Linked DNA regions of Homo sapiens: region 1 is linked to region 2. Evidence: promoter capture Hi-C in 16 types of primary human blood cells and fetal thymus (Javierre and others, 2016). All regions are on one chromosome and are shown on one strand. Each heading gives the region's core, a stretch centred on a gene start or on the middle of the fragment in contact. The rest is flanking DNA. Distances are from core to core; before and after follow the strand shown.

Region 1 (4,761 bases), core at 540-3,039, 260 kb after region 2:
ATCCACGCAGCTCTTTCCTCCCACAGTCCAGGCTCAACACCTCTTCCTATTCCAAGGTGGCTTATCCATATGCAGAAATCCAGGCTGTTCCATATACATTAATACTTGCCCAGCTGTGTTTCACGAGGCATCTCCATAAGCCAAGCCCCGACTCAAATTCTGTACAGGAAGTTCCCGTTGCTGTCAAAGAACTCTCGGCCCCTCTGCACTACTTTGCTGCTGAAGTTATCTGGCTCCTCTGCCTTCAACTCCTCCAGCTTCTGACCACTTGGCAACGCACCACTGCCAGTTCCTCTGGGGCTCTCAGAATCACTGGAGTACTTCTGCAGCTCTCTTGGATGACCTAGGGGTGCAGCAACAGGCACAAAGCTCTCCTCCAGGTCCTGGATTTCTTTATTTCTTCCCTTCCTTCTCCTTGGTGTATTTGTCCTGTGAGTGTCTGACTCTATCACTTTCAAAGCTGTGCTGTGATTTGGGTCTTTAGATGAGGCTTCATGCCCTGGCATAAGCAAAGAGCCTGATACAGAGTGGCCTGCAGGGAGCAGCTTTGAGGTATTTCCAGAGCCCCGGAGGTGCTGCAGCGAGTGGGCAAGCCCAGCTTTCTTAAGGACTTTTTGATCCTGCTTCAGCTTCTGCTCCAATGTGGGTAAAAACTTGCTTTTTAAAACTCTTCGGATCACATCAGTGCTGACATCAAAGCCTTCAGCCAACCTGGGAACTGACCAGGACTCTGGAAATTCCTCATGTAAATACCTACGGGAAGAAGGAGCAGGTTTGCAAGTTGTGAAGAAGTCTCCTATCAGAACATCTAACTCGCAATACCTATGATAAAGAAGAGGGGTTGAGGCCTGGCATGGTGGCTCACACCTGTAATCCCAGAACTCTGAGAGGCCGAGATAGGCGGATCACTTGAGCCCAGGAGTTCGAGACCAGTGATTCTTGTGCCTGAGCCTCCGAAGTAGCTGGGATTACAGGCATGAGCTACCACGTGGCACAAGAATCACTTGAACCTGGGAGGTGAAGGCTGCGGTGAGCCGAGATTGCACCACTGCACCACTGCACTCCAGCCTGGGCAACAGAGTGAGACTCTCCCAAAAAAACAAAAAAAGAGAGCTTGAAAAACCGCAAATGTAGTCCCTATCTTGTGCTAGCTAAATCTTGTGCTAGTCCCTATCTTGTGCTAGTTAAATGGCTGTGTTCCATTTCTGTGTGTCAACAGCAACACCTGACCACTGTCAGTCAGGTCACTTCATTTCACATCAACTCAGCTCCTCTCACTGACATCTAATACCACAATAGATCCTGGGGACGCAGGAGGACTGACCTTCCCATTACATAGTTTGGGAGTGGGGACAGACAAAATAAATGACATTATGGTAAAGGTTATAGCACAGGATGCAAAGACAGCACCCCAGGAGGGAGACCCAGATATAGGGAATAAGAACACTTATAGCCAGGCCCAGGAATTGCTTCATGAAGTCCAAGCTAGAGTTGGTCTGAAAGGATGAAAGGAGTAATAAGCTGGCAGAAGGGAGGAGAGAAGGAGAGATGAAAGATACTGATGATAAAGTGAAGAGCTTGTGAAATGTAAAGCGGCACATCACCTTTGTTGGGAATAACTCAACTGACAGTGAGGGTAAGAAGTAGATCACACTTAGGGGTCTGGAGTTTATCCCAAGGCAACAGCAAGTCAAGGAAAAATTTTAAGCAGTGGAATGCCACAGATAAATTTTCATTTTGAAGTTCAACCTACAGCCTGGCACAATGGCTCACTCCCAGCACTTTGAGAGGCTGAGGCAGGAGGATTGCTTGAGCCCAGGAGTTCGAGACCAGCCTGGGAAACAGGGAGATCCCATCTCTATTAAAAAAAGAAAAAAAGGAATTCAACCTAGTGGTAGTTTTTCAGTGACAAAAGTATAGGCAGAAAGATTGGTCAAGAGGCTTTTACAGTAATCCAGATAGTCTCGAGTGAGACAGTCAATGGAGCATAGGAGGAAAGTGAGTTGAGAAATATTTTAAGAAAGTCAAATAGTACAACTTGGTACTAAGGGACTAAATATTGGGGGAAGCATCATCAAGGCCAAGATGCAGGATTTTAGCTTGGGTAATCAGTAGGTTATAGGAAAAACAGGAACAGAATGAAGTTGTCAGGGAACAACGATGAATTCTATTTTGTACATGCTGAGTTTGAGGAAACTGTGATATCCAAAACAGAGATGTCTGGTACACAGTTGAATATATGCCTTTAGATTTCAGGAAAAAAAACATGAACTGGAGATGACAGATTTGGAAGTCATAAGCCAATAGCAGGGGTGACTGAGTGGCTAGCATCAGGCAGGGAAATATGCAGAGTGAACTAAAATGACAAGGACAGAACTCTATGAAATAACAATATTTAAGATATAGGAGGTAGAAGAGGAGCCCAGGAAGGAAACTGAGAAAAGCAGCCCTAGAAACAAAGAAAAAAAGATCAGAAGGGAATGGTACCCTGGAGTCAAGGGAGAAGAGAATTTTAAGAAAGCAGTTCACCATGGCACATGTACACCTATATAACAAACCTGCACATTCTGCACATGTACCCCAGAACTTAAAGTAAAATTAAAATAATAAAAATAAAAAAAGGCTGGGTATGGTGGCTCACGCCCGCCTGTAATCCCAGCACTTTTGGGAGGCTAAGGCAGGCAGATCACTTGAGGTCAGGAGTTCAAGACCAGCCTGGCCAACACGCTGAACCCAACCTCTACTAAAAATCCAAAAAAAAAAAAAAAAAAAAAAAAATTAGCCAGGTATAGTGGTGTGCACCTGTAATTCCATCTACTTGGAAGGCTGAGGCACGACAATCACTTGAACCCAGGAGGCAGAGGTTGCAGTGAGCCAAGATCATGCCACTGCACTCCAGCCTGGCAGCAGAATGAGACTCCGTCTCAAAAAAAAAAAAAAAAAAAAAAGAGAGAATCAGTGTCAATCAATAAATAAATAATGGGGGGGGGGGGGTGGGAGAAAGCAGTTTCAGCTGGGTGCAGTAGCTCACACCTGTAATCCTAACACTTTGGGAGGCCAAGGCAGGCAGATCGCTTGAGCTCAGAAACTGGAGACCAGGTTGGGCAACATGGCAAAATCCTGTCTTTATTTAAAATATATATATATATTTTAATTTAAAAGGCAGTTTTTACAAGGGCAAATGCTGCTGAATTATTTAGGACGCTAAGGACTACAAAGTGTCTTTTTGAGCCTAGCACTGAGGAAGTCACTGATGGATTTAAGGAGAGCAGTTTTATTGCAGTGATACAAACAAACAAAGGGTAGGCACCCTGGGAACCAGCTGGGAACAAAAGAATGAGAGAGAGCTTTAGGTTGAGGACAGAGGTCCTTGAGTAATCTTATGCAGGGAGAAATATGACCTAAAGCATACAGAGAATTGGTCCCAGACAAGTGAAGGGCTCCCATTTCCTCTGAAATGGGAGTAGAGTATAAGTTTGAGAGTAGTGGGCAAAGAGGAAGACCAGGAAGCTGAAAGTTTTTACTTAATGGACTGTTTTTTTTTTTTCCTCTTAAAAGGACATTTATTGACCACAATAAAGGGAGATAAGTAGGAAGGTGGAAGGTTTGAAAAAGCTATTGTTGAAGACAGGAGATAGAGGCCGGCATGGTGGCTCATGCCTGTAATCCCAGCACTTTGGGAGGCCGAGGTGGGTGGATCACCTGAGGTCAGGGGTTTGAGACCAGCCTGGCCAACATGGTGAAACTCTGTCTCTACTAAAAATACAAAAATTAGCCAGGTGTGGTGGTGCACGCCTGTAATCCCAGCTACTTGGGAGGCTGAGGTCCAAGAATCTCTTGAACCTGGAGGCAGAGGCTGCAGTGAGCTGAGATTTCGCCACTGCACTCTGGCCTGGGCGACAGAGTGAGACTGCCTCAAACAAAAAACAAACAAACAAACGAAAAAAAGAGGAGCTAGACCTGACTGAGGACTCAGAAGGTGCTACAGGCTCACAAAATCTTGAGCAGCTCTACAGAATCCCCTTTATTTTAAATTTCAATTCCAGAGTCATTCTGATGGAAATGAAAAATAGTACATAATCTATGTAGGGCTACTTAGCAATATTTATCAAATTGCAAATGCATTTGTCTTTTGACCTGGCAACCTTACTTCTGGGAATGTATATAACAAATATTCCTGGCAGGTATGCAGAATGATACACATACGTAGTTATTCACTGGGGCACTATTAGTGAGCAACAGAAATGGAAACAACCCAACTAAATGCCCACAATAAAAGACAGGTTAAATAATGCATTCTGGCCAGGCATGGTGGCTTACGCCTCTAATCCCAGCACTTTGGGAGGCCGAGATGGGAAGATCAGTTGAGGCCAGAAGTTTGAGACCAGCCTGGTCATCATAGTGAGACCCCCATCTCTGTCAAATAAATAAATAGGAGAAAAAATTGTTTAAATAAAAATTAAAAACCACTGTCATATACTGCCTCATATACTGCCTCAAAAAAATATAATAACACCATCTATAAAAAAAGAATTGAGGGCCAGGCGCAGTGGCTCACTCAGGGCACAGAGCCTAGTTTTTGGTAGAGAAAAACTATTAAAAATAGTACAGCTGCACACAGTGGCTCATGCCTGTAATCCCAACACTTTAGGAGGCTGAGGTGGGATGATCGCTTGAGCCCTGGGAATTGGAGACTAGCATGGGCAACATGATGAGGCTATCTCTACAAAAAATAAACAAAATTAACCAAGCATGGTGGCA
Region 2 (5,089 bases), core at 886-3,385:
CTGAATTATCATATGGGCCACAGTTGATTAGGCTTGCTAAATTCAAGAGACCCTGAGCTATAGCAGGGTCTCTAAAGTAAGTAAACACTTTTTTTTTACTTGAAAGTAAGTAAACAGTGAGGATCTGTGAAAAATTTTTGCTTTTAAAAGAGAGTCTGTACATTACTCATGGCCTCACCTGTCAGGGATATTTTAAAGAAGATTCATGAATTGGGTGAAAGATTGGATCCGCCATAGGTATACAGACATATACAGTGCATGTATTTGTACATAAACAATGTACAGTATGTATTTAAAAACACATAACAACACAGGCCCCAACACTAATCCTCAGCTTTCACCCACCCATTCTTTTCAACGTGCTCTGAGCTTATCGAGTTCATCTCTGAATCTAACCAAGGTCACAGATGTAAATGCCAGTGGATGCCAGGCAGGTAAAAAATGAGTGAAGCTGATAGGGTATAAGAAAACATTTTCTTGAAATCTTCAGCTTCTTTCTCTCTATATATATATTTTTTCTCAATGTGAACAGAAATGTAAGTACAGGAAATATTTCACTTTTTCCTTAACTTCACTGAAAGAAAACACCATCATGAGTATAAATGGCAACTGTCACCTAATCTCCCCTTGGGGGACTGTGACAGAGAGTGGACGGTGGCAAACTAGAGTTCTTACTCCATTTGAAAGGGAGCTCAGCTCAGCTCCCTTTCATCATCACCCAGCTCCAGCAGGTCGGTAGCTGTCATGTAGGAATTCAGAATTAGTGTTACCAGGTCTCCCAATTTTTAACATATATAAATAATAATAAATAAATAATACGGAAATTTGGATTTTGTGTGGAAGTCTTCCAATTTAAAAATTCTGGCAACAGATTCAATAATTTTTCCCAAACACTGCGCTGGCCAAAAAATAATGTGTCTGCAACTCAGCTGGTTTGCAACTCTGCTCTCAGCTCTCCTTCAAACTGTCTCCCCCGCCTCAGTCCCCCAGAATCTGCAGATCCTCCCCCATCCTCCCGATGGTCCTCCAAGGTCAGCATTCAGGATCCTCAAGGCCAGCCCCACTCCTGCTGACCCCCCTTCTCTGCAACCCTGCGCGGACACTCCGGTTGGCTCTCCATCCTCCACTGCCTCACTCAGCGGTTACCTAACCTCTCCAGGTGTTTGTCCCGGCTCGCGCCTTACTCATTCCTCCAGGTCCCTCTCCAGTCACCAGCGACGCTTGTCAGTTCTCACTAAATATCCCGGGCCGAACAAAGTAAACTGGACCCGATAAAGCACCTCCAAGGAGTAAAAGGAGCAGAGCCTCACACTCGACACGGAATCCCGTCGTGGTTCCAACAACCCGAGCCACCCCAGGGCCGGGCCCTGGATGGACTTGTGCACAGAGCTCCCCCCACGAGCGCGTGGGACCCTGGGGTGCCCGCGGCCTTCCACGCCGGCAGAACAGCAGGGCTCGATGGTGGGGGATGTTCGGAGCGACCAGAAGCCGCGCCGCGCCACCCGGCCGGCCTCCGAGCTGTTTGCGATTTCCTCTCGGGGCTCCTCGTCCTCCTCCCCCTCAGGCCGCCCTCGCACGGCCGCCCGCCTCCACGGGCTTCACCCCTGCCCATCTTCCCGCACACGGGGCCGGGCGACCCTCCCACCTCAGCCCGGGATCGCGAACGGCTAGCGGGTGTCGCCAGGCGGGGAAACGCCGAGGCCGCGGCCGCTCCGGTCCCCCTCCCAGCCGCCGGTTCCCGGGCGCGGCCCCCGCCCGGCCCCGCCATCGCCTTGGCCCCGCAACCTCTCACCCGCCGCGCGGGTCCCGCCCGCGGCCGTGGCCGCCCCCGCCCGCGCCGGCCCGGGCCCTCACCCGCGACAGGGTGAGGTCGGTCATGAGCTGCTCGAAGGCCCGCGTCTCCTCGGCCTGTCTCTGCGTGTGCAGCGCGATCTTCTCACTGAACTTCCGCGGGTTGGCGCTGCCCGAGCCCGGCGAGGCGGCCATGGCGCGGACTCTGCGCGGGCAGAAGCGGGAGACGGCGGCCGTGGGGCCTGTACCTCGGCCCACCCGTCCGTCCACAGGCCGCCGGGGCCGCCGCCCGAAGCCAGTCGTCCGGCGCGACCCGGCAGAGGAGCCGCCGCGGCCCCGGAGCCAGCGAGCGGCCGGGAGCGCGCCGAGGTCCGCCCCCGTGCGCCCGGCCCCGCCCCACCCTCGGCGGGGCCCGCCCGGCCTCCAGTCTGCCCCGGCCCCACGCTCGCGGGCTGAGGGCTGCTCCCCGCTTCCCGGTCTGGCTCGGGACCCGCCGCCGGCGGCCACCTGGAGGGACCCCCGTCAGCCCGACAAAGTGGCCCCGGCGTACGGGGAACGCTGGGGTGCCACTCCACGGAGACTCTCCGACCCAGGGATGGCCTCTGCGTCTACGCGACGTGGAGAACACAGCCTGTGCCCGCATCCCCCCTCCCCCAGCCAAATTACGAAGATTTTCTTCTCCAGGTGGAACCTGGGCGACCGGACCTCGAGCAGGTCACCTCGGGCCCCCGCAGGGGGTGCGCCCATTTTGCCTGGGGCCTAACGTCTGCCCGCCAGCCCTGCCGCTCCAGGCCCCCGGCCTCCAGCCGCTGGTTTCCTGACCTCTCACACCCACCCCTCCCCGCTCCAGTCAACCAGAGCTGTATCTCGGCTTTAAAAACTGCCTCCTATTCTGCACAAACTACAAACACCATCCAGCCCTGCTGCAGCCTTGGCTCCATAGCCCCGGCCCCCTTTCCAGGTTCTTTCCAAGTCTCCCTACGGCCTCTCCACTCCTGTGGCAGCTTCAGCAGGTGCCAGCCCCACCTTGGGAAACCAGCGCTCAGCCTCAGCGAATTTCCCCTTCTTTTGGGGGAGTGAATGGATGTCTTTCTCTGTCGCCCGGTCTGGAGTGTAGTGGTGCGATCTCGACTCACCGCGGCCTTGACCTCCCGGGCTCAAAAGATCCTCCCACCTCAGCCTCCCGACCAGCTGGGACCACAGGCGGGGGTCACCACGCCCGGCTAGTTTGTAAATGTTTTTGTAGCAATGGGGGGCGGGGGTGGGTCTCGCTATTTTGCCCAGGCTGGTCTCGAACGCCTGGGCTCAAGCGATCTGCCCACCTCAGCCTCCCAAAGTGCTGGGATAACAGGCGTGGGCCACAGTGCCCGGGGAGTTTCCTCTTTGGAGTCCAGAAGCTACTCTCAGCATAAATGTTGATGTGCACAAAGATGTCCCGGGGAGCCCTGAGCGTGTGTCAGTGTTCTGTAAAGAGGGAAATATTAGAGGCCTACGGAAGAGTACGGAAAATAATATTAATACTACCCACGCCCCCCACTATCAAGATTAAACAGACATCAATACATTTTGCTGCATGTACTTGGGATTTATTAAAGACATACAAAATTAGTCATAACGACGGCCCCACTCTCATTTCTTCTTCCGCCCCACAGATAGTCACCGTGCTCAAGTTGGTACATATCATTCCAGTTTGTGTTTTTATACTTTTATTACATATGATGTAGAGATCCAGCAATGCTATATGGAATACCTAATTTTGTTTTTAAACTTTACAAAAATGACACCATACTGAATAATCATTTTGCATCTTTTTTCATTCTCCATTATGTTTTCGAGATATATTTGTGTCAATTCATTTATATGATAATATTCCATTATGTTTTTCACCTGTCTCTCAGACATAGCCTATAACTGGACTTTTTAGAAAATGTATTCTGAAAATATATCTCTGTTAGCTAGAATTTAGCTATTTTTATTAATTATAATTGGATTTTTTTTTCTGTTGTATTTTGTGTTATTTACCATGCTTTTTTTTTGTTGTTGGTTTGTTTTTGAGACGGAGTCTTGCTCTGTTACCCAGGCTGGAGTGCAGTGGCCTGATCTCAGCTCACTGCAAACTCTGCCTCTTGAGTTCAAGTGATTCTTGTGCCTCAGCCTCCCGAGTAACTGGGATTACAGGCTTGCGCCACCATGCCCGGCTAGTTTTTTTTTTTTTTTTTAAGACAGAGTCGCGCTCTGTCGCCCAGGCTGGAGTGCAGTGGTGCAATCTCGGCTCACTGCAATCTCTGCCTCCTGGGTTCAAGCTATTCTCCTGCCTCAGCCTCCTGAGTAGCTGGGATTACAGGTACACGCCACCACGCAGGCTAATTTTTTGTATTTTTTGTAGAGACGAGGTTTCACCATGTTGGTCAGGCTGGTCTCAAACTGCTGATCACAGGTGATCCACCTGTCTCGGCTTCCCAAAATGCTGGGATTGCAGGCGTGAGCCACCGCGCCTAGCATTTTTCTTTACATTTTATTTCTGCTTTTCTGTTACATTGTTTGGGTCAAGTTTCAGAGAACAGAACCATTCTAGATGGTTTAAGTACAAAAGAATATATTACAGGGTATAAAATGACTTCCAGACTTGTTTGGAGGGCTGAAGCAACCGACTCCAGGTTGAACTTTGAGGAATGACTTTGAGAGCTATGCTGCAATACTGAGCCACCAAAGGAGACACTGCCTCTTTTGAAATCAGGAAGCCATCTACTAAATTGGAAAGCTGTCTCTACACTTACCAGCTCTTGAACCATACAGGTATCATCATGATGAGAAGCCACTGCAGAAATATCAAGCATCGGCCAGGTGCAGTGGCTCACGCCTGTAATCCCAGCATTTTGGGAGGCCAAGGCGGGCAGATCGCCTGAGGTCAGGAGTTTGAGACCACCCTGACCAATATGGTGAAACCCTGTCTCTACTAAAAATACAAAAATTAGCCAGGTGTGGTGGCATGTGCCTGTAGTCCCAGCTACTCAGGAGGCTGAGGCAGGAGAATTGCTTAAATCCAGGAGGGGGAGGTTGCAGTCAGCCAAGATCACACCACTGCACTCCAGCCTGGGCCACAGAGGGAGACTCCGTCTCAAAAAAAAAAAAAAAAAAAAAAAAAAAGGCCAGGCTCAGTGGCTCACACCTGTAATCCCAGCACTTTGGGAGGCCGAGGTGTGGGTGGATCACCTGAGGTCAGGAGTTTGAGACCAGTCTGACCAACAAGGTGAAACCCGGTCTCTACTAAAAATATAAAAATTAGCAGGGCGTGGTG

What was found. Contacts are between HindIII fragments. The CHiCAGO score rates a contact against its expected background, and 5 or more counts as called.
Region 1: a contact is called between a fragment that was not itself captured here and the fragment with the promoter of CRTC3 in region 2, in 1 of 17 cell types (activated CD4 T cells). The highest score is 5.3, in activated CD4 T cells.

Annotation. Positions count from the first base shown.
Region 1 is chr15:90,267,180-90,271,940 of GRCh38, reverse strand. NGRN (neugrin, neurite outgrowth associated) reads right to left here. Exons shown (of 3, transcript NM_001033088.3): 3 at 1-753. The coding sequence ends at 153. Among named protein-coding and RNA genes, the nearest start is that of NGRN, 3.9 kb to the right of the region's middle. The HindIII fragment of the contact is 6,495 bases long and covers 1-4,761 here.
Region 2 is chr15:90,526,969-90,532,057 of GRCh38, reverse strand. CRTC3 (CREB regulated transcription coactivator 3) reads right to left here and starts at 2,135. Exons shown (of 15, transcript NM_022769.5): 1 at 1,855-2,135. The coding sequence starts at 1,986. RefSeq lists an enhancer at 1,032-1,191 and silencers at 1,582-1,761, 1,782-2,531, 2,632-2,681. The HindIII fragment of the contact is 15,096 bases long and covers 1-5,089 here.